Linked DNA regions of Homo sapiens: region 1 is linked to region 2. The links are contacts of gene promoters, found by promoter capture Hi-C in blood cells and fetal thymus (Javierre and others, 2016). All regions are on one chromosome and are shown on one strand. Each heading gives the region's core, a stretch centred on a gene start or on the middle of the fragment in contact. The rest is flanking DNA. Distances are from core to core; before and after follow the strand shown. Region 1 overlaps LINC01014 (long intergenic non-protein coding RNA 1014). Region 2 holds the start of ZNF639 (zinc finger protein 639).

Region 1 (6,714 bases), core at 3,932-6,431, 870 kb after region 2:
GTGTGACCTAGAATGTGCACAATCCTGGAGATCTGGAGAAGCCAACAACATCCCTAATAGGAAAGCATTAACATGTTCATTTTAGTAACAAACAGAACCCCAGGAGTATTTCCCGAGTTCATGGACTAACACCTAACTCCAGATACAGCCATTCCCACAAGACCATGCTATGGAAATTCTCTTCTATTAATTTTGTTTCTTCTCTTTCATCCCTCTTAGCTTTACATTAAATAGAGTGTTTTTTTATATTAAGTATAACATGTGTTTAAAAATTATTAAATGGTAAGTTCTCTGGTAACTTATTTATTTTTTAAGAGCAGAGAAAGGGGTAGGATAAAGCAAAGGCTTTATCAAAAACCCTATACAAAATTTTGGAAGTGTGTAGTTACAGACCCCATACTGGGGCTGCATTCTTTCTCGCTGACATTTTTGGCAGAGTGACTGAGTGGCAAATCACCAGATCCAAGTTCTAACTTGTAATGCTACCAAATAATTTCCTGTGCATGGGGGAGTCATAAACTCTCTTATACCCTTCTATCACACATATTATTGAGGAAGTGAGGGCTGAAATCAGTGATCTTTGAGGTCTCCACACTGTTGTTTTACTCCAGTGGAAGATTCAATAGAGGATGGAGAAAATTCACACCCCCTAGCCTGGCCTTTTCATAATATTGCTTGGGCTGATTCAAGGGACAGTGCACTTTTTTTCAGCTAATGTTTTTACTTCACAGTAACACTATGATATGTATTCCATATTTTATTTTCTTCTTTCAATTTGTCTTGATGTCTACTGTTCTACTATAACTGTTTAAATGGAGAACAAGATTAGTTCATCTTTCATGAAGCTTCCAAATATGCTGGCGGGCCCATGTCTACTCTTTGGCTCCAGCTTCCCTCGACTGTCAGCTGCTCTGGCCATGCAGCAATCGTCATTCCCAGCTGCAGCAAGAGACCCAGTGGAGTGCTGGCCTGGCTCAGATGCAACCTACAGTGTTATTTTTATAATCTGGAAGTCCTAGGCAAAGAAAGCAACTCTTCTTCCGTCAGCTATTAGCTATTCCCTACTGTCCAAGATCCTGTGGTTCTTCAATGACTCAGAAGGCAGCAAAGTCTAATCTCTTGACCTTGCTATTCAGCTTCCTTCACTGTAGAGAAGGTGATTACAAAGGACCAACCATTTAATTAGCTTCTGGGGCCTACAGCTTGCAGTTTTACATTTCTCTTTCTCGTGATTGAATATTTTATTTAGTACTCTTTGGTAGAGCAAACACTGAGCCACTGCTAGCATTTCCTGGTGAATGATATGGGATTGGCTATCAAGACTTATTTATTTTAGAAGAAGGAGGTAAAAACTAATTGAAGTTTATCTGTTTTTACAAATGCAGAAAATTTCTAGGAAGCATTAGTAAGCTATCCAGTTCTATGCATTTTAGGTTTGGGTGCAAACTATTGAATTGTAATAATTAATTAGGCTCAGGAACAGCCATCTTTGGTTATGCTTTCTAAATCCTTTGGCTAAACTCTCTTAATCAATATTCACTTAAAAGTGTGGTGTGCTCCTCGACTCCATCCTTTCCCTTTCCCTAGCAATGTCCAATTATTTCAGGTGGAGGTAACTTTATTTTTCTAAATATCTTTAGTGTAAGTTTGCTTATAAATTCATCAAATATTTATTTAACAGTTACGGCAAGATATTTGAACATCTTATCAAAAAAGATCAATCAAATATAAATAAGAATATGAAAAGATGTTTAACATGACTAGTCTTCAGGGAAATGCAGACTAAAACCATAATGAGGTACTGCTGGATACCTATTATGCAAACTAAAACCATAATGAGGTACTGCTGGATACCTATTATGCAAACTAAAACCATAATGAGGTACTACTGGATACCTATTGGAATAACTTTAAAAAATGACAATCTCAAGTACATGAAAGGATGCAGAGTAACTTAAACTCTAATACATTGCTTTTGGAAAACAGTTTCCAGTAACTTATTAACTTATTAAGTTAATCATATGCTGATAATTGACTTATTAAGTTAATCATATGCTGATAATATGACCCAGTGCTTCTATTCTTAGGTATTTGCCCAAATGAAATAAAAATTATTTTGGAACAAACATATGGATGATTTATTTTCCATCAAACTAGAAACAACTCTAATATCTTTCCACTGGGGCCTGGATAAATGCTGGTATATTTGTACCACGGAATATTACTAAGGAAAAAACAGAAATGTACCACAGTACTGATACAACCACAATAAGGATGAACTTCAAACACACTATGATAAATGAAAGAAGCCAGACTCGAAAGGTTACATACTGTGTGTATGTGGTTGCCAGGGGCTGGAGTTGTGAGATTGACTATGAAAGGGCAACATGAAGAAATTTAGGGGGTGATGGAACTGTTCTATATCTTGATGGTGGTAGTGGTTACATTATGATATACAATTTTCAAAATTCACAAACAAGGTGAATTTTATTGTATGTAAATTACTCTTTAACAATAAAAGCAAAAATTATTGAACACCTGCTATGTGCTGTTGTTCCAGAAGTGAAAAGACAGACCAGGTTCTTGCTTCCTAGATCTTATATCCTTGTTCTGTGTTCACTCTTCTGTGTCCACAGTCAGCACTAAAGTCTATGTTCTTTTCGTCTTTTGCCTGCTCTAACCTTCTAAATTGATCCCCTTGTCTCCCAACTCTCCTCTTCTCCAATCCATTTTCAATAATGCTACCAAATGAATCTTTTTATGATGTCAACTTGATTATGCATCTTCCATGTGGCAGTGGATAGTTTCTATGATTTGTAGCCTTTTAGCTTCTTTGAAATACCTTTTCTGTGCTTGGAATTTCTCACATCAGGGTTTCCTAGATAGAAGCTAGAAATTCACTTTCCAGTCTCCCTTGCAGCTATGGTGCTGGCATACGACCTGGGCCAATCAGAAGAATATAAGCATGACTATGATTAGACAAAAAGCAATGGGAGGAAGGAGGTGCTGTGTGGAATTCATTTCTGTTGAGGGTGACAGGAATGGCTTTCTTAGAGTACTGGGGGAGGTTTTGCTGCCTAGTGCCCAGGGTCTTGATGTGACCGCTAGAGTATGTGCTCAGTGGTCTTTGCTGGAGTCTCTAAGTCTGGACTCACAGTCTCTGCCAGAGTGTCTCTGAACTACTTAATATTCTTTAATAAATTCTTCTTTTTCTCCTTAAGCTAGAGTGGTTACTGTTTTTCACTTACTTTGCCTCTGAATCTCAATAGATACACCTATGTATAAGCCTTCAAAGACTTCCCATCACCTTAGGAAAAAAATCAGTACTTTTAACTATGGCATCTAAGGCCTTCAACATAGAGTTCATACATACTTTCCAGTTTAAACTGTTCTCAATGTGCTCTATGTTTTAGTCACCCTAAACTTGCTGTTTGTCCAACACTTCATTCTCATTTATACCTTCATGCCTTTGCAGATGATGTTCCCTTTGTTTAGTATAAGTTTTCCTTTTTTCTCACCACTTTGTAACCCTCTCTTCATGTTGCCCTTATTTACCCTTCAATTCCATTCAAAATCTATCTCAAATACCACGAGCTCAAATGCCCTTTGTGAAGCCTTCCTTGATATCCTTAACATGGTCCCAGCGCCCAAGAGCTGTTTGCTTCCTCCTGTATCTGAGAACTTCTTGTATTGTATTATGATGTTTTGTTCATTTAGTCATTCATTCAATAATAATTATTGAGCAAATACCATGTGCCAGGCACAGAGCTAAAATCTGAATGATAAGTAGGAGTTAATTAGGTAAAAATGGAGTAGAGTGTGTTCCCACAGAGATCAGCATGGAAAGTGGGCAGGCAGCTCATGAAGAGTGTGAGCCTCCAAGTGAGGGCAAGTGTAGTGGCCAGGGCTGAGGAGCAGGTGTGCCCCCTTCAGTCTTCTGCAAGTCCTTTGAGGCAGGAGCCCAGTTTTACTCACCTTTGTGCCTCTAGTGAAGCCAATCAGGCATGGAGTTGACATTCAATGAAGGGTTATTGAATTAATAAATAAATCACCAGATCATGTCTCTCCCTAAAACATTTATTTGATGCTTGAACCAGAGGAGATAATTTAGGCTTAATTTCCTGTGCATCAAATCATTGTCAGGACATAAGTATTACCTTTAATTAGCAAGCAAAGTCTCCCACTTCCTCACACTAATAATCCAGTGTTGCATTGATGTAATAGTGGCAGACCAACTTCAAAAGTGTTTTCTTGGATAATTGTTTGGGTGTCATCGGTTTACTTATCTTTAAAAGCCTATTAACACAGCAGATATCTCCAATCTGCTTTTTCATGTGATTCTGTCATCATAGCAACCTCACAAATCAACTCTCTGATGTGTCTTAACATTATAGCTTGGGCAAAATGAGGGAAAATAATTTTCTGATCATTACACAGAAAACCAGTGTCACAATAAGAGCCATTTCTTCCCAGACCTTTCTTTCATGGCCAAGGGTCATCTTTTAATAAAAGAGGTATTAAGTGAGGCAAGAGCTGCATGTTTAAATCAATCTGTGTGCAGTAAGTGTCGATACCTCCTTTAGCCCTATATCCATGGGATACAGAACAGCCACTTCCTGGCGAGGGTGAAACTGGAGGCACCAAGCTTCAATGTCATCCACAGGGCTTGGAATGTAAATACATGTCATTGCTGCTTTGGATAGTTTTGAAACCCTCTCCTACCATCAGATAGCAATGTCTTTCCTTTGATTTGGTACCAAAATTAAGCTGAATTTTAATCACCTCCTTAATGCTTAACTTCACAGAGAAACAGACTGAGTATTAGGGATATCTTTCTGATGTTTTCAATGAACCAGAGGCACAGACTTTGCTGTCATCTTCAGCCAAGGACAAATTGTAATTGGCAAGGCTGGCAAATTGCTTCTTCTTATTGGAAACTGCCATTGGCACATTAGATTGAAAATAAGATCCTTCCTGTATGGAGGTGATGTGGTTCTTTACCATGCAGCTGTAAGTGAAAAGTTGTTTTTCTAAACTAATGTTTATAGAGGTAATTCAGTTTGTGATACTAAGGGATATAAATTTGGGATATTACTGAGAATGATTCAGCTTTCATTTTTTACTTGAACTCCTGCAGTTGCCCTTTTTTCTTCCTCCTTAAACGTGTGATGGTACATCCGTCTTGTTAGGAACATGCTCAGAGGATAAAAATGAGCAGTCTTCCTTAAGAGGAAAGTGAGAATTGAAAGGCGGAATATGCCATCATCACAAACATTGCACCCAGATGACAGACATGGGACTTCATACTGACACCATTAATCATGATGGGGCCCTGTGGCTGTCTGCTACACAGCTCTCAGCTAGACTTACTTTGATATGTCTAAGAGGCTCATTTTTGGATGTTAAAGGTGGTTGGCTCTGTGCTCTGTTTTAGTGGAGACTCGGGGCAATGGGAGTCTCTTTCCTAGCCCGAATACAAGGCACCCACACTATTTTCTAATTAATAAGCAAGGTATTAACAAGTTTCTGAAACAGAATATAAAATGTTCTTCAGGTGCAATCAGCATTGTACTCACTCATAGCTAAATAAATAAATAAATAAAGGGCTAACTTCATAAGACAGAGATGGTAAAACTTGAGAATCTATTTTTTATAGTCCTATTGATCCTTTCAGAACTCCTTACTGTCTTTTACATCTGTACCAGAGAAAAGCTTTATAAACAGCCATTGTGATACAGCAGAAACAGTAAAATTTGGAAGCAGTTGGCTGTGCAAATCAGGCTCTACTAAGATGAGACAAAATTGTGTGGTTAATGGACTTTTGCCATGGCACTTGGTGTTCATCAAAATCTAAGGAAAATTTTGTCCTCAAAGGAAATATGAAAAGTTAAAGTCAGCATTCAGATGTCCTAATAGTGCCACCCTAAGATCTTGGGTTCCAGTTTCTTTAACTATGTCCTCCTAATCAGTGGGCTTTGAAGTCAGCATGCTGGGCTTTCCATCAGGGCCTCACCACTTACTGTTATGTAGCTTTCAGCAAGTTATTTGACCTCAATTGCTTTATCTCTAAAATGGGGATAATAGCAGTATGGTATGGTTTGGCTCTGTGTCCCCACCCAAATGTCATCTTGTAGCTCCCATAATTCCCATGTGTTGTGGGAGGGACGCAGTGAGGGATGACTGAATTATGTGGGTGGGTCTTTCCTATACTGTTCTTGTGCTAGTCAATGGGTCTCATGAGATCTGATAGTTTTAAAAAACGGGAGTTGCTCTGCACAAACTCTCTCTTTGCCTGCAGCTATCCATATAAGATGTGACTTGCTCCTCCTTGCCCTCCAACGTGCTTGTGAGGCCTCTCCAGCCATGTGAAACTGTAAGTCCGATTAAACCTCTTTCTTTTGTAAATTGCCCAGTTTCGAGTATGTCTTTATTGGTAGCATGAAAATGGGCTAATACACAGTATCTACCTCATTTTTGTGAGGATGAAATAATACCTGCTAAATACTTAACACACAGTGCCTGGCTTATGATGAGGACTCAATAATAGTGACTATTTTCTTGATCTTGTAATATCTGTACAAGTAGAAAATTCATGCCTCTAAACTCCAGTCCTATAGCTAGGATTTGGTTTAATGGTCAGTCTTCCTGATGTCAAGAGTTACCTACCTGATGTTCCTGAAGTGTTTTGGGGTATCAGGTGGTAAGTGGACTCAC
Region 2 (7,001 bases), core at 3,937-6,436:
CTAACTGAAGAATTTATTGGCAATATGAAATATGTGAGCCACCTGAAAATCTATGGTATAAGAAAAGTGTTAAATGATGCCTCTGTTTGTATTTCAGATTGTTTTCCAGTCAGGTTTCAAGGCAGAAACTGATTTCTGTTTTCTTTCTTACGGAGGTTAAAAAATTCTTTTTCAAATGTTGATATAAATTGTGAGAACTGGATAATTACAATAAACCACATGTTTAAGTCATTTTATTTTGTGTATATATAAAAAAAGAAACACTGTGCCTATGGCACCATACTAGGAGTTTTATAGGCACATTTCCTACCATTGGAAGTATTTTTAGGTAGTTTTCAAGCTAAAGGCGGAGACATTTCCTTTAAAAAAATATTGTCACAAATATGTATCGGCCTCCTGGCTTCCAGAAAAAAGTACTCATCACACAGATCAGAATATAAATAATTTTCAAGAAAAAAATCATTTTCCTATTTATGAGGTCACATTCAACGTTCCACTGAGAACACAACACATGCAGCAACCACTATCCAATTAAATTCTCATTAACTGTTACAAAATTAATTAGTTTCAATACAGTCCACTTACTTGGTATAATTCTTACTACTGGAGTGAGGAAAAATGAATTACAATAAGTTTCTGTAGACAGTAAAAAATGCCTGTAAGTAAAACATGAAAGAAGTTATTAAGCAAAAATACAGCTCATTTCTGGTACTGAATAATACAATGGCACCAGATCTTTAATCAATTGGAAAGTTATACAGAACTAATTAAGATATATTATTTTGAAAACAATGTACTACATACTAAAAACTGTATATCTTGATAAATATGTGATTATATGCAAATTTCCACATTTCTTTGAAATGATTTACCTTCTATAGTTCTTTTTTTTTGAGACAGTCTCATGCCTGACCTATAGTTAAATCTTTTGACACCAAAATAGGACTATGAATCTGAATTAATTTATTCATCCATAAGGAAAGCAAGCATAATGAAAGCAAACCAAATTATAAACTTTTTGTTTTTGAGACCGAGTTTTGCTCTTGTTACCCAGGCTGGAGTGCAATGGCGCGATCTCAGCTCACTGCAACCTCTGCCTCCTGGGTTAAAGCGATTCTCCTGCCTCAGCCTCCCAAGTAGCTGGGATTACAGGCATGTGGCACCACACCGGGCTAATTTTTCTATTTTTAGCAGAGACGGGGTTTCACCATGTTGGCCAGGCTGGTCTCAAACTCCTGACCTCAGGTGATCCACCCACCTGGGCCTCCCAAAGTGCTGGGATTACAGGCGTGAGTCACCTTGCCTGGCCCAAATTATAAACTTTAAACTGTTACAGCCCTTATAGATTATTTATTTAAGAAATAAAAGATCGAGACCAGCCTGGCCAATATGGTGAAATCCCGTCTCTGCTAAAAATACAAAAATCAGCCGGGTGTGATGGTGCGCACCTGCAATCCCAGTTACTCAAGAGGCTGAGGCAGGAGAATGGCTTGAACCTGGGAGGCGGAGGGCTACAGTGAGCTGACATCGTGCCACTGCACTCCAGCCTGGGCAACAGAGCAAGACTCTCTCTCAAAAACAAAAAATCAAAACAAAACAAAAAAAGAAAAAAGTAAAAGTGATAATAATAATTTACTGACCACCAATTATGTACCAGGCTGTGAACATACTTTATCTCATTTAATCCTATGTAATCGTATGAGATGCAAAATTCACATCACCCTCTCAAAATTATAGTTCCTGTTATTGAGGAAACTGAGGCACAGTAAAGTCAAAGCTAGATACTCAGTAAATGCTGGGGTTGGGATTTGAATAAAGGTTTACCCAACTTTATTTATTAATCTATTTATTTATTTGAAACGGAGTCTTGCTCTGTCACCCAGGCTGGAGTGCAGTGGCACGATCTTGGCTCATTGCAACCTCTGCCTCCCCAGCTCAAGCGATTCTCCTGCTTCAGCCTCCTGAGTGGCCGGGATTACGGGCGCCCGCCAGCAGGAGGCTGGGATTACAGGTACCCGCCAGCACACCCAGCTAATTTTTGTATTTTTAGTAGAGACGGGGGTTTACTATGTTAGCCAGGCTGGTCTTGAACTCCTGACCTCAAGTGATCCGCCCACCTCAGCCTCCCAAAGTGCTGGGATTACAGGCACGAGGCACCGCGCCCGGCCTATAATGCTCTTAACACCAAGGTGATACACATGACAGGTGTTCTAGCTGAGGTGCACATACTATTTTTGCTGCTTCACTAAGTTCTGGGTATATCAGCACTGAAGTGATATAATACAGCAGGGAATGAGATAGTGCTTTTTCAGTTTATTTTATTTTTACTTTTTTTTCGGACAGAGTCTCGCTCTTTCGCCCAGGCTGGAGTGCAGTGGCGCTATCTTGGCTCACTGCAAGCTCCGCCTCCCGGGTTCATGCCATTCTCCTGCCTCAGCCTCCCAAGTAGCTGGGACAACAGGCGCCCGGCTAATTTTTTGTATTTTTAGTACAGACGGGGTTTCACCGTGTTAGCCAGGATGTTCTCGATCTCCTGACCTCGTGATCTGCCCGCCTCGGCCTCCCAAGGTGCTGGGATTACAGGCGTGAGCCACCGCGCCCGGCCTTTTCAGTTTATTAAGCATTTTCCTAACCCTTATTCTATTTCATCTTCAAAATGGTCCTGTGCGGTACATGGAGGAGTTACTATCAAACCCATTTACATTTTTACTGATGTGGAAACAGCCTTAGTGAAAGTTAAGTCAACTAATAAGTGGGAGAACCAGAGATGAAAATGCATGCACATCTTGCTTCCAGTTCTTAGCTACCAGTTGGGAGAAGGGGAACAGAATAGCCTAAAGAAACAGACAACCATGAAATGTACAGAAATGATACCAATATATAAAATACCTCACCTCGCCGGGTGCAGTGGTTCACGCCTGTAATCCCAGCACTTTGGGAGGCCGAGGCGAACAGATCACCTGAGGTCGGGAATTCAAGACTAGCCTGACCAACATGGGGAAACCCCGTCTCGACTGAAAATACAAAATTAGCCGGGCGTGGTGGCACATGCCTGTAATCTGAGCTACTCGGGAGGCTGAGGCATGAGAATCGCTTGAATCCGGGAGGCGGAGGTTGTGGTGACCCGAGATCACATCATTGTCCTCCAGCCTGGGTAACAGGAGTGAAACTCTGTCTAAAAAAGAAAGAAAGAAAGAAAAAAGAATAAAATCAAACGCCTCACCTAACAATGTAAACAATCATTCCTTGAGTAACCATCTCAATTCACTGCATTCAAAAATCAAAAAGAGAAGAGCTATTACGATTCATATAGCCCAAAGCTTCACACTTCATGTTCTAAATACTCTAAAAGTATCAGGGAGAACACTGAAAACACTCAGCCGAACATGTTAAGTAGTCTCTTGTTATTTCAGAATGCATCTCAAGTTCTTTGCAACTTGAAGAATAAAAGTAAGAAAAGGAAACCAAGCGTGGTATTAAAATCAACGTTGCAAGCTGGCCTGGATTCAGGCTGTTAGGTGAGAGGAGGAGGCACACGGATCAGGAAGGGTCTGACTCCTACTTAGGGCCGAACGATAACCAAATGTCTATCGGACTTCCTTTCAGCACAATGGTGATGCCTACTCAAGACCAAAAATGCTAACCATCCTTCATTTTAGCAATCATTTTTATGTGCCTTTTGTGTGCATAACAGCCTTGAAAAAACTTAGCTTTCTACTCAAGGATGTCATAAACATTTGCTCACTAGTCTTCTTAGCAGGAAGATTCTGAATCACAAGCAACCTATCACAGTCCCCCCTCCCTCTGAAATACAAACGACATATGTAACACGTGTCACTGCAGAAAAATCAGAAAAATGTTTAAAAATTTTTTATATCACCTAGAAACCAACATCTTTCCACCTGTCATTTTTTTCAACCAACAAGAAAGTCTATGCACAAAATAGAATACATACAACAGGCAGTCAGCAATCATCAAATAGATAAACGTTTCAAAAGGCCTTTCATGCAATGTATATTCTTCCTAATTGCTGTAAGACGTCTTTACAGTAAATAACTCCATTTTTAACGAGTTTAAAAAGAGTTAAGCTTTCTTTTTCGTTCTCATTAAAATAAGCATATGCTTTAAATTGTAAAAGAATTGAAACAAAAACATGTTGCAGGAGAGCCTGAACTAGAATCCACTACATGTCCAACGTGGAGGCAGTCTTTACTGCAATATCACACGGTCACTAAATACTTGATTCGCTATTTTTCAGTCCGGCATAAATCTTTCTCTTCGAAAAAAACAAAAAAGGCATAAACTGCTTCAAATGATTCGTTTCCCTAGACAGTACTTAAAGACAAAACCAAAAAAGGGGGTTTCTAAGCACCGTCACACGAGTGAGGCGACTCTCAGGCTGGAGGCTTTGGGCGCCAGCATCGACGCCTGCTCTCCGCGGCTACAACTCGTTGCGCGAGCCCGGGGATTCGCCGCCGGAGGTCACGAAGCCGCCGGGCAGGGCCGCAGCGCCAGCGAGGACCCAGGATCGTCCCGAGCCCGGACGCAGCCAGACAAATGCCCGTCGGAGGCGCAGGGCAGAAGTCCCTGGGACTTAGCCGCCTCCACCCCGGCGCCACGCACCAGCTTCGCCCGGGCCCAGAAGCCGGCGCCAAGGAGACTTCCAAGCCCCGACACCAAAGGTTCCGTAAAGACAACGGCAGCAGGGGGCCGAGGGGAGCCCGGCCAAGGCGTCCTGCGCAGGGGGTGGAACTGCCTTCGGGATGGGGGAGGGGAACGCCATCCCGCCATATAACGAAGGCAGAGTTTCCGTATAAAGGGAGCTCCGGTCTCTCCCGCCCTCTCCCGTTAGAAGATGCGCCCGCACGCCCGCGTCCCCTGGAGCAGTCCAGCGCCCGACCCACCCGCTCCTCCCTCACACTCACCAGTCAGTCCCCCGAGGCCCTCCCGGCCGGCCCACGCAGAGGCGGCGGCGGCCGAGAGCGCAGGCGGAGGGGCCGCGCGGTCCTTCCCGCGGACGCACGGCGGCGGGCAGCGCTGCTCCGGCCCTAGCGCTCCCGGACGCTGTGCTGGGCCGACCCCTCTCCCTCCCCGCGCGCCCCACGCCCTGAGCGCCAGGCCCCTGGCCTAGGCTCCGCGGCCGCACTGCCCTGGCCGCCACGCTCCGCGCCTGCGCCGCGCACCTCAGGGGCCCGCCGAGAGGGCGGGGAGGTGACGAGGTGAGGTGGGGGCAGGGAGCGGGCTGCGCGAACGCACCGCACACGCGGCCTGGGAGGGACCACCGGCCCGCAGCCCCGGGGGAGGCCCAGCGGCCCGCGCCCCCTGCCGGAGGCCTTGCGCCGCCGCAGTCTCCTTCTGGGCGGGGAAGAGCCCCTCCCGAGCCCCGAGGGCGATCCCACCCTCTAGGATTACTCCACGCCAGGCGGCCAGCGAATTTATCCCGCCCGCCTCCACCGCCCCTTCAAGCCCTGGGGAACTGGGAGAAACGTGGCGCGCAGCGGCACCTTTCCCACGCTGCTCCTCAAGGGAAAGGACGCGAGTGGTCTTGCCCAGGTTAGGCAAGGCAGATGGCATCTCAGACCCCGAAGTGTGCCAGCCGCCTGTTGGGGACAGAGAGGCCGAGGACCTCGTCACGGTTTTACTGAGGCCACACCAGAGAACCACCTAGGGCTAGGATGCTGCCCTCAGGGCAAGAGGGTGAAACCTGAAGACTGCGAGTCGTTGTTGAGTTTCACCCGATTCCTTGGCTCGAGAAATAGTGGAATGAATGAGGAGTTAAGGGGGACTGGACTCGACGATTTAAGTCCTTTCTCGACTTTGACTTTCTTTGAGCAGCTGTAGAAATGATTAAATTACACGAGCATAAATAAATTTGTGAACATGGTTCCATAAATGATCTCTGTGCAAGTGTGGTGATATGTTTAATTCAGTCCTTTTGACAATGAGTTGAGGTTTTTAGTCACATTTTACAAAATGGAAAAGTAAATGTGTGAGAAGCTAAAGACTGGGTCTTAATTCATTTTGGTAGCCTAAACCCCTGAGGTTCAAACGGTTAAGAGGATGACTGAGAGCCATGTGGATTATCAGGTACCCAAGGTCACTCGGATAGTTAGGGCTGCAATGATGTCTCTTTGTTCACGTCCACTGCTTTTTCTGACAACCACATGCCAATCAACCAATCAATCGCTGGAAAGTAATAATCACAGACTTTACTCTGATCCCTTCACCATCCCCCAGGAGATAAAGCTATATTTGAAAGAGACACTACTTGTTTGTGAGGCTCAGTTTTTATGACCTCCTAAGTTTTATGTGCGTACTCAGCTCAAATAAATGCTCACGAATGCTAGTATGGCCCGAATTAAAGTTCGAAGAAATGTAGAGACATTTTTAAATCCTAGAATAGTTAGTATCTAGCACAGAACCGGGAATCGGTGGAAACCACAAGGGGGTGTCATGCCACCATCTTACCATTTTGCCTTACCACATAGCCTTGTGTCCAACAAAATCTTTATATTTCAAAATGAAGTTTTACTCCAAAACATTTTGTAGTGAAAGTAAACGCACACTCTCCCCAGCATCCCACGTATTGTTTGCACTTAGAGGAGCTTGACTTTGTTTAGATGTTGTTTAACATAGTCACAAATTGCAAGCAATTTCAAGTTCTTGATTAGCTGGAGTGTTTTTCAGTTTCATTTTTGGGTCCCTCTTTTCCTCATCTCCCGCTCCAAGGGAGGGTGATAGCTGGGATAAAACCCTAAAATCTCAAGAGTGCTAAATTGTAGAGTTTGTTAAATACTATTATAAATTTGATTCAGGGCTATTAAAACATCGTTCTTCCAACTTTTTCACACACTTGTAGAATAGCTTAATTTCTCCTTCCTTTCCTTCCTTCCTTTTCTTTTTTTTCTTTTTTCTTTCTCACGGTCTCACTCTGTCGCCCAGGCTCCAGTACAGAGATGGGATATCGGCTCACTGCAATCTCCACCTCCTAAATTCAAGCA

The links. Contacts are between HindIII fragments. The CHiCAGO score rates a contact against its expected background, and 5 or more counts as called.
Region 1: a contact is called between a fragment that was not itself captured here and the fragment with the promoter of ZNF639 in region 2, in 1 of 17 cell types (endothelial precursors). The highest score is 6.0, in endothelial precursors.

What each region holds. Positions count from the first base shown.
Region 1 is chr3:178,449,205-178,455,918 of GRCh38, reverse strand. All of the region lies in intron 1 of LINC01014 (long intergenic non-protein coding RNA 1014), which reads right to left. Among named protein-coding and RNA genes, the nearest start is that of LINC01014, 33 kb to the right of the region's middle. The HindIII fragment of the contact is 1,067 bases long and covers 4,648-5,714 here.
Region 2 is chr3:179,321,216-179,328,216 of GRCh38, reverse strand. ZNF639 (zinc finger protein 639) reads right to left here and starts at 5,186. Exons shown (of 6, transcript NM_001303426.2): 1 at 4,926-5,186; 2 at 586-656. RefSeq lists enhancers at 3,086-3,185, 4,227-4,276 and silencers at 4,847-4,986, 5,017-5,456. The HindIII fragment of the contact is 4,241 bases long and covers 4,091-7,001 here.